Linked DNA regions of Homo sapiens: region 1 is linked to region 2. The links are contacts of gene promoters, found by promoter capture Hi-C in human tissues and cell types (Jung and others, 2019). All regions are on one chromosome and are shown on one strand. Each heading gives the region's core, a stretch centred on a gene start or on the middle of the fragment in contact. The rest is flanking DNA. Distances are from core to core; before and after follow the strand shown. Region 1 overlaps ARHGAP26 (Rho GTPase activating protein 26). Region 2 holds the start of HMHB1 (histocompatibility minor HB-1).

Evidence for each region. Contacts are between HindIII fragments. The study calls those that stand out against the background at their distance.
Region 1: a contact is called between a fragment that was not itself captured here and the fragment with the promoter of HMHB1 in region 2, in 1 of the 25 tissues and cell types used here (dorsolateral prefrontal cortex).

What each region holds. Positions count from the first base shown.
Region 1 is chr5:143,188,150-143,192,423 of GRCh38, reverse strand. All of the region lies in intron 20 of ARHGAP26 (Rho GTPase activating protein 26), which reads right to left. Among named protein-coding and RNA genes, the nearest start is that of ARHGAP26-IT1, 2.2 kb to the left of the region's middle. The HindIII fragment of the contact is 6,015 bases long and covers 1-4,274 here.
Region 2 is chr5:143,809,526-143,813,416 of GRCh38, reverse strand. HMHB1 (histocompatibility minor HB-1) reads right to left here and starts at 1,256. Exons shown (of 2, transcript NM_021182.3): 1 at 1,113-1,256. The coding sequence starts at 1,149. The HindIII fragment of the contact is 7,714 bases long and covers 1-3,891 here.

The DNA.
Region 1 (4,274 bases), core at 1,569-4,068, 620 kb after region 2:
GGTTTGCCTACCCCTGTTCTAAACAAATGGCTTTACTTGTGCCATGAGTATGCTTTAACCTTTTGCACCTCCATGTTCCTGCTGGTGCTGCTGTTCCCATCTGAAATGCCTTTCCCTTTCCTGTAACCACTGCTCATCCGCCACTCAAAGCCCATTTCAAATGCGACCTCCTTCCTCAGGCTTCTTTGATATCACGATGAGTTTGATCTTTCTCCAGTGAGTTAGATCTTTCTCCTTGGAATCTTCAAGGGCTGTGTTTTTCTTCCCGTCTTGATGCTACATTGAATTGCAGTTGTCTTATCCCTCTTTTATCTCTTGCACACTGTGAATGCTTAGAACTGACAATATCTAAAGACTGTATTTTTAAGAAAGACTCCACAGGATCAAGTAAATAGTTAAAAGAATGGAAATGGATCTACCAGAAACCAAGGGTAAGACTGCTGGCAGACAGGGAAGGCAGACATTTCTGAGTCAGAATTATCTGATGTCATAAAACGGTACAGCTCTCATTCTGGTGTTGTCACGACAGCTCCACATATGGCCACTTGTCGGCTTGCCTAAGACAGGCCTGACAAATACGATGGAAGGGGACATTCAGACATTTCATTTCTGGTTGGGAGGGAGACAGGCACATTGGGCATAAACTTGGATGAATGCCTGTGTTTCAGTATTCATTCTCAGCCACCCACTGGCATTGTTCTTGCTCCTGGCTACTGGGTGGTGGCGCCCAAACTCAGTCATGAGTGTCCCACCTTCATGACGTTTGTCACATCTGTGTATCACATGTAATTTTAATACATATTTTCTTAATATTTTCTTTAGATTGATCTCTTTAACAAATGTCTACTTTAGCCCATTGCAAATAATATCTCATTATTATTAGTATATAGAATAAAGTTCACCCAAGCACCACTTAAAGCTATTTCAGCTATCTCAGTGTCACACAGCTCACATTTTGGAAATTTCTGTTCTCGGCCACTAATCCTTTTATACCCTCTTGTAAAAGTGTGGCATATATTTTCCCAAGATCTACTTAATTATTTGGAAGAGCCAATTTAATGAATGAAAAGCATATTTGTCCACTCAAGCAAGGTGTACACAGTCATTTAATGTTTCTCTCTTAATTTTGGTATCATTTGTCTACACTACCTACAGAATAATAAAAACAACAACAGTTATCAACATTTAAGGAATGCTTTGTACTCCTGGGAGAGTTTAAAACAGCTTTATTGAGGTATAATTTATATACCATGAAATTTATCTGCCTTACTTAAGTGTACAACTTTTAGAATACTGATGGAGCTGTGCAAGCATCATCCATATTCAGTTTTATAATGCCACCATCACCCCAAAAAGGTCCTTCCTGCCATTTGCAGTTAAGCCCTGCTCCCATGCTCAGCCACAGGCAACCACTGATCTGCATTCTAACTCTAGAGATCTGCCTTTTCTAGATATTTCACAAAAGTGGAATTGCATATTGTGTGGTCTTTTGTGTCTGACATTTCATTTAGCATGTTTTCTGAAGTTCACCCATGTTCTGGCGTGTATAAGTAGTCAATTCATGTTTATTACTGAATTCTATTCCATTCTATGGACACCATGTTCTTATTGAGTAGTAAGATTTCTGCATAGATTCTGGATACAAGTTCTTTATTAGTGATAATATTTGCAAATATATTTTCCCAGTGTGTGGCTTGTCCTCTCATTTTTTCAGTGGTGTCTTTTGAAGGGCAAACATTTTTAATTTTGGTCAAGTTCAATTTGTTAATTTTTTTCTTTTTAAATTGTGCTTTTGATGTTAAATCTAAGTATTTGCCTAACCTACACATTTTCTCCTATGCTTTCTTCTAGAAATTGTCTGGGAATATCTTTATTTCACTTTCATTTGAGAAGAATAGTTTTGCTGATCATAAAATTCTTGGTGGACAGCTTTGTTTTTTCCTTAAGCACTTCGAAAATTCAATGTATATCTAGCCACCATGGCGCACAGAGCCTCCCTCTTATGTTCCTGACATGCTGCATCTGCTACTCAGGCAAACTGCAAGCACCCTGCCCCGTGCAGCACTATTCATAATATGTGCCCTTGCCTGCAATCTACTGAAGCATTTTTACTTTAAGAAGCATGTGTTGGAAGATATAAAAGAAAAATATTTAAAACTGTTTATGAGCAAATTTCCTCAAAAAGCTTCAGAAGCTGGTCCATTTGTGCCATCTGTTATAAGAGAAACTAGAAACCACCTGTCTGTCTGCCTGAGCTCTGCTCTTACCAAGGAAGCTGTAATTACCTCTTTGGTGAAGGATTTGAATCATTACAGTAAATCCTTATTCAGCACATATTGTATTAGGAAGGCATTCTGAACCCCAGAAACCAGGTCTTTTTTTTTTTTTCCCCCCCCTCCTTCTGTCCTCCAAAGATGTAGTAAAACCTTAGCTATTAGGAGCCTGGAAGAGTGAATTGTGCCTTAGCCTTGTTTACTACTCAACAATAAATATTTAATAATCAAATATTTACTTAGCACCTAGTACATGCTAGGCACAGTTGTAGGCACTGGAAACACAGCAGGTAACAAGCCAAGCAAGCCCTCTGCTCTCAGGCAGCTTACATTCAAGTTCAGTAGGCTTCAAGGTAGGGTGGGCGAGAACACAGGCTGGTGGAGGAGAAAAATATCAAAGCTCCTATTGGCATTTTAAATATCTGATTCTTATAACATTTATATTTTTTATGTTTTCTAATGTGTGTAATATAGCAATTACTAAGGCAGGTATACACTTTATAATTAAGTAAATAAAAACAAACACTTATTGGAAGTACATGCTTTTTGATAATATTTTAATTATTATCCTAATGGAAAAAATTTAGGAAATACTACTTATGAGTGTGTAAAGCAGAAAATAAACTCGTAAACAACCAAAGAAGATAATTTTAGGTGGTATTAAGAGCTATGAAATCAACTAAAATCAAGGCAGTGTGAAAGCAGGTGCCTGGGTGGGGAGGGTGTGTGGGTGTAATTTGGATTCTGTGGCTAGGGCAACTTCTTTTGGGTGACATCTGAGCCGAGATCTCAACAAAGTAGACTGCTGAGGGCTCACTGTCTTAAGCCCAAGTGCATCTTTTTTATGGTTAAACATTTAGGATTAAAACAAAGCTAACCCCCATTTCTGCCTAAGCTCCTTCACAGTCTCTTTGCTTAATCACAGAGACTTTTCCCAGAATACTATGTGAACTTAATGGAAAGGGTCCTATTTTGAAAGAACTGTGGAAAGAAGATCAGTGGTAAACATTGGCCTGTCTGTAGCAGAATTCCCAGTAGTAGCTGATAACAGCAAAACATACTTTTCCTGCAAGAAATTGTTTCTTGGTAAAGCTAAAAAGTCATTCTGTTTAGGGAAACAAATGCTTGCCTTTTCAATGAAGTCTCTGTGCACCCTTAAAAGAGTATGTCGCTTGTTCCATTTTGGAAACGGGGAACTACACAAGCCCCAAACAAACAGCCCAGGGACTTCTCTTCTTCTGTGTAACCTGCCACATCTCTAGCTATTTGCAGGATGCAACACACTGTTTGATACTACAGTTATTACACCTCCTTTTTCTAGGTTACCCTCACTTTCACTACCTGAGATGTAACAGTTCTAAAGTTCTACTCACTTTTTGTCAGTATATTTATGTTAATTCACTTGCAACGGTATTCATGGTCACAGTGGTACAAGCTCATTCAGTTCCCTTCAGAAATCATCAGTCTACACTTTCAAATATACCTACCTGAAATGTTAGTGAGGGTAAACTTTCCACAATGTCATCCCCAAAACCCCACAGCATGTCTCTGTCAGCTCTTCCTTCTTCCAACATTGTCACCCAGCCTTATCATGACAAAATGGTACTCTACTATATATACTCAAATTTTCTGTCATTCTCCCAGAAAACTATAGGAAGGAAGGGAGACTCCCCTCCGGGAAGGACTATTACAAATGACAAAATTACAAAAATGAAAGAAAATCAAATGTACTTTACAAAATGGCAAGTCCTAACATTAGCAAGAAATTGAATGACTATGGCAGGGTTGGGGCCTAAGAAGCTATATCTTCAAAATACTATTCCTGCTCTGGCCTTGTGGTTCTGATGAGCAACCAGAGATGGGAACCACTGATCTTGGTTCCTATTGTGTTCTAGGTCAGCTCTGGAAATGACTGGGAAGTGTGAATGCCCCCACGTATTGTACTTAGTAGCAAAACACTGTTGTGATTACTTTGTTCCTCTAAAACCTTTTATTTGTTTG
Region 2 (3,891 bases), core at 7-2,506:
CTCTGATGGAGGAGGCGAACAAGTGCTTTAGGCCAAAATGTAAAACTATGAGGGCACCAAAAAGGGAGTGGTTTATTTTGCCTGGAAAGAAATAAAACCTTCATAGAAGAGGTGACATTTGAAAGGGGCCTTGAAGGAAAAAAGGGAAGGTCGGTAGTTGTCTGTATGAAACAATAAAACAGCATAAAAATTCTAAAAGAAAGTTCTGTTTGTATTCTGTGGGCTACCTGTGCAACTGGATCTGAGCATTCCCTGGGGTGGCTGAGGGGGCTGTGTGGACCAGACAGAGCACAGGCTTCCCCGGCCTCATCAGTCCAGGCTGAGTGACCTCCAGTTGCAGGAAGGAGAAAACAGCAGATCCCTTCAGTGCACGGCACCAACACCTCCTATAACGTCAACCCAGGGCTCCGTGTGTCCTCTTCAAGAGGAGAAAACAAGACAAAAAAACAAACAAACAAACAAAAAACACGACAGCAGGGCCTTTCTGCCATTTCCTGGCTCTGAAATGAGGTTAGTGAGTTAAGGAATGAAGCCATCGTGTCTTTATCTGTAAACTGGGGAAAGCTATACCCCCCTCAAGTGCTTCTGTGAGGATGAAAGAGAGAAATGCATGCAAAGCCCCCGGCACATGATCCTAAGAAGTGGGAGCATGGCGATGATGGTGATGATGGTGGCCATGCTAAGGATAAAGGACGGGTCTGGTCTCTGGGCTGCCTTGGGAAGCCTGAGCATCCCACGCGGTGGGCAAGAACAATGTGATCTTGGCTACCCTGGCTCCGACCCAGAGGGACTTCCTGCCCATCTGCACTTCCCTTGCCGTTGTCCTTGTGGCTCAGGTGGTGCAGGCAGCTGCTCCAACTGCTGCCTCTGGTGCCCTGACAGCTGCAGGCAGCCAGGCAATGGGCTATGAAACCGAACCTCAACTGGAAACTATCCGCCCTAAATAATCCCAGCAACAAGGGCCGTCTCACTCCTCTCCCCTGCCTTCCGCCATCCCTGTTTTCACCTGTTGTGGTTTCCCTCTCATTCCACCAGCATTTTCTTTCATTTTCTCTGCCCCTTCGCTGCCTCTTTCCCTCTCTCTCTGTTCTCCCTCCTCCTCGCTCCCTCACCTCTTTTTTCTTCTCTGCATTCTGGCTGCTCCTCCAGTTCTGGTTTCTCCACTGTGGTGTGGCAGAGGATGTGAGGTCAGAAGGCTCAGGGCCTGCCCGGCTTCTGAGATGCGGGGCAAGCCGCCTCGGCCTCCTGGGATGTGGTTTCCTCATCTGCAGAATTGGACCAGAATGACTCTGGAGTGTTCCTTCCGTTCTAAACTCCCGTTCTGTTACATTGTGTTGTGTTAGCCTTTGTGCCTGCTTTTCCTGCTTCAGCTGTCTCATCTGTCCACCTGCCTCTTCCATCTGCATCCCACCACTCGGGTCCAAGCTGCCAGCATCCCTTGCAAGGACCCCTAGAGCAGCCTCCTGCTATTGGAGGTCTCTCTGCTCCTGTTCTTATCCACATCCAATGTGTTATCCACACAGAATCCACAGTGACCTTATCAAAATAGAGATGAGATTGCTCACTCAGCTTAAATCCTCCAAACTCCTTTACACCCCTTTTCTATCATAGGTCCCTGTTTATGTTCTTCAGAGTAATTATTATTGCCTGAAATTATCTTTATTTACTCATGAATTTCTTAATGTTGATGTATCATTTGCTGTCTGTCTTCCACACTAGAATGCAGGCTCCAGGAGTGATGGACTTGATTGTCTCGTTTACTCCATATCCTCACTGGAGGGGCCAGCGCCTTTATTCTCTCCATAAACACTGAATGAAGGAACCTCCCTTTGCCGCAGAATCCATCTCTCCCCTTCTTGAGAGTATTCTCTCCTAACCACACCATTTCTTACTTAGAAATACCTGTGCCTGCCAGAAATCCTGCCCATCCTTCTCTGTCATTTCTGATATAATTCCCCTCATTCACTTTTCTCAGTCAGCCGGGTCCTGTGTTCCCATGGGCTATGGTAAAGAACAATGGCAATGATGAAGCTAGTTCTTCTTTCACTTTAATGTCAATCTGTGCCGTTGGATGCCTTAAGATAAAATAACTTAACAACTCTGAGACTTGAATCTAGTTAATTGTCTTACAATGCTGAGAAAGAGACTTCTTTAAGAAAATATATTAAAACTTCCAAAATTCTGTGCTTGGTTCTTGGGGAGATGTTAGGAGTAGCCATTTTCTTTAAAACACCTCTTTAAAGTAGGTAATGTTAATATGTCCATTTTACAGGTAACAAAACTGGGATTTAGAGAGTGCACAACTGGACAAGGCCATAGAGCCAGAGGTGCATGGAGCCAGGATTTGAATGGAAGAAGTGCAACGCCAGACCCAGGCACCTAGCCACCACATGGGTGACCCTAGTCACCCTCTCACTCCCTAGATTAGATTACTCTGCATTATTTTCACCATAACACTTATAAATACCTGATGCGATCATATTTCTTGTGTCTATTTGCTTCCATTATAACATAAACTCCATCCAGGCAGTTACCATATCTGACCTGTTCACTGCACTTATTCCAATACTTACAATAGTGCCTCATACATAATGGACGTTCAATAAATATTTGCTAAATGAATTAGTTATTTGCATATTGAGGATGAGATATGAAAGAAGGCCTGATAATTCTGTATATAAAACTCCATCTTAGCCAGGCACTGTGGCTCACACCTGTAATTCCCAGCACTTTGGGAGGCCAAGGCAGCAGGATCGCTTGAGCCCAGGAGTTTGAAACCAGCCTGGTCAACATAGACCTCATCCCCACACAAAAAAAAATAATAAATAAAAAATAAAAAATTAGCCAGGCACGGTGGTGCATACATGTAGCCTCAGTTACTCAGGAGGCTGAGGCCAGAGGATCAATTGAGCCCAGGAGTTTGAGGCTGCAGTAAGCCATGATCACTCCAATAATGCACCCCAACCTGGATGACAGAGAAAGACTGGGTCTGTAAAAAACAAAAACCATCTTCTTTGATGATGGAATTTTCTCAAAAGTATCTTCAGTGTTGGCATATCTTTTTCCTTTGAGAATGCATTGGCTTTTTGCAATTAGCCAAAACTGTTAAAGACTGCTTTTTTGTCAAAAAGAACATATGGTCATAAAGCATCATCACTGCTTTTCTTGCCCTGAAATTAGATCTATTTGTGGAGGTGTGGAGGTCTAACTTTCTGTGCTTTGGGAAGCTTATGCACTCTGGTAAGGCCCCTGGACTCTGTCTCAGAATCATCATTTTTATAAGTATAAAAGAAAATATATAGAATTATAAAGAGCCAATTATATTGAATACAGTTATCAAAATGTTAAAAATTGTGACATAGTAACATATTTTCTTCTTTAATAACATATTAAATAAGAAGATCTAAAAATGTCTAATATCAACCTGGGAATGATATTTACAGATATCTGCAAAAACTAAAATGTGTTATGAAAATAACAGAATTAAATTAGACTCAGAATTTTCACTGGTAACAAAAATTTAGGTATTACTATTGCTTTCATAATTAAAGGAAACTTTAACTTTCTATTTTTCCTTTTTTTTTTTTTTTTTGAGACGGAGTCTTGCTCTGTCGCCCAGGCTGGAGTGCAGTGGCACAATCTCGGCTCACTGCAAGCTCCACCTCCTGGGTTCATGCCATTCTCCTGCCTCAGCCTCCTGAGTAGCTGGGACTACAGGCACCCGCCACCACGCCCGGCTAATTTTTTGTATTTTTAGTGGAGACGGGGTTTCACCATGTTAGCCAGGATGGTCTTAATCTCCTGCCCTTGTGATCCGCCTGCCTCGGCCTCCCAAAGTGCTGGGATTACAGGCTTGAGCTACCGCGCCTGGCCAGGAAACTTTAACTTTCA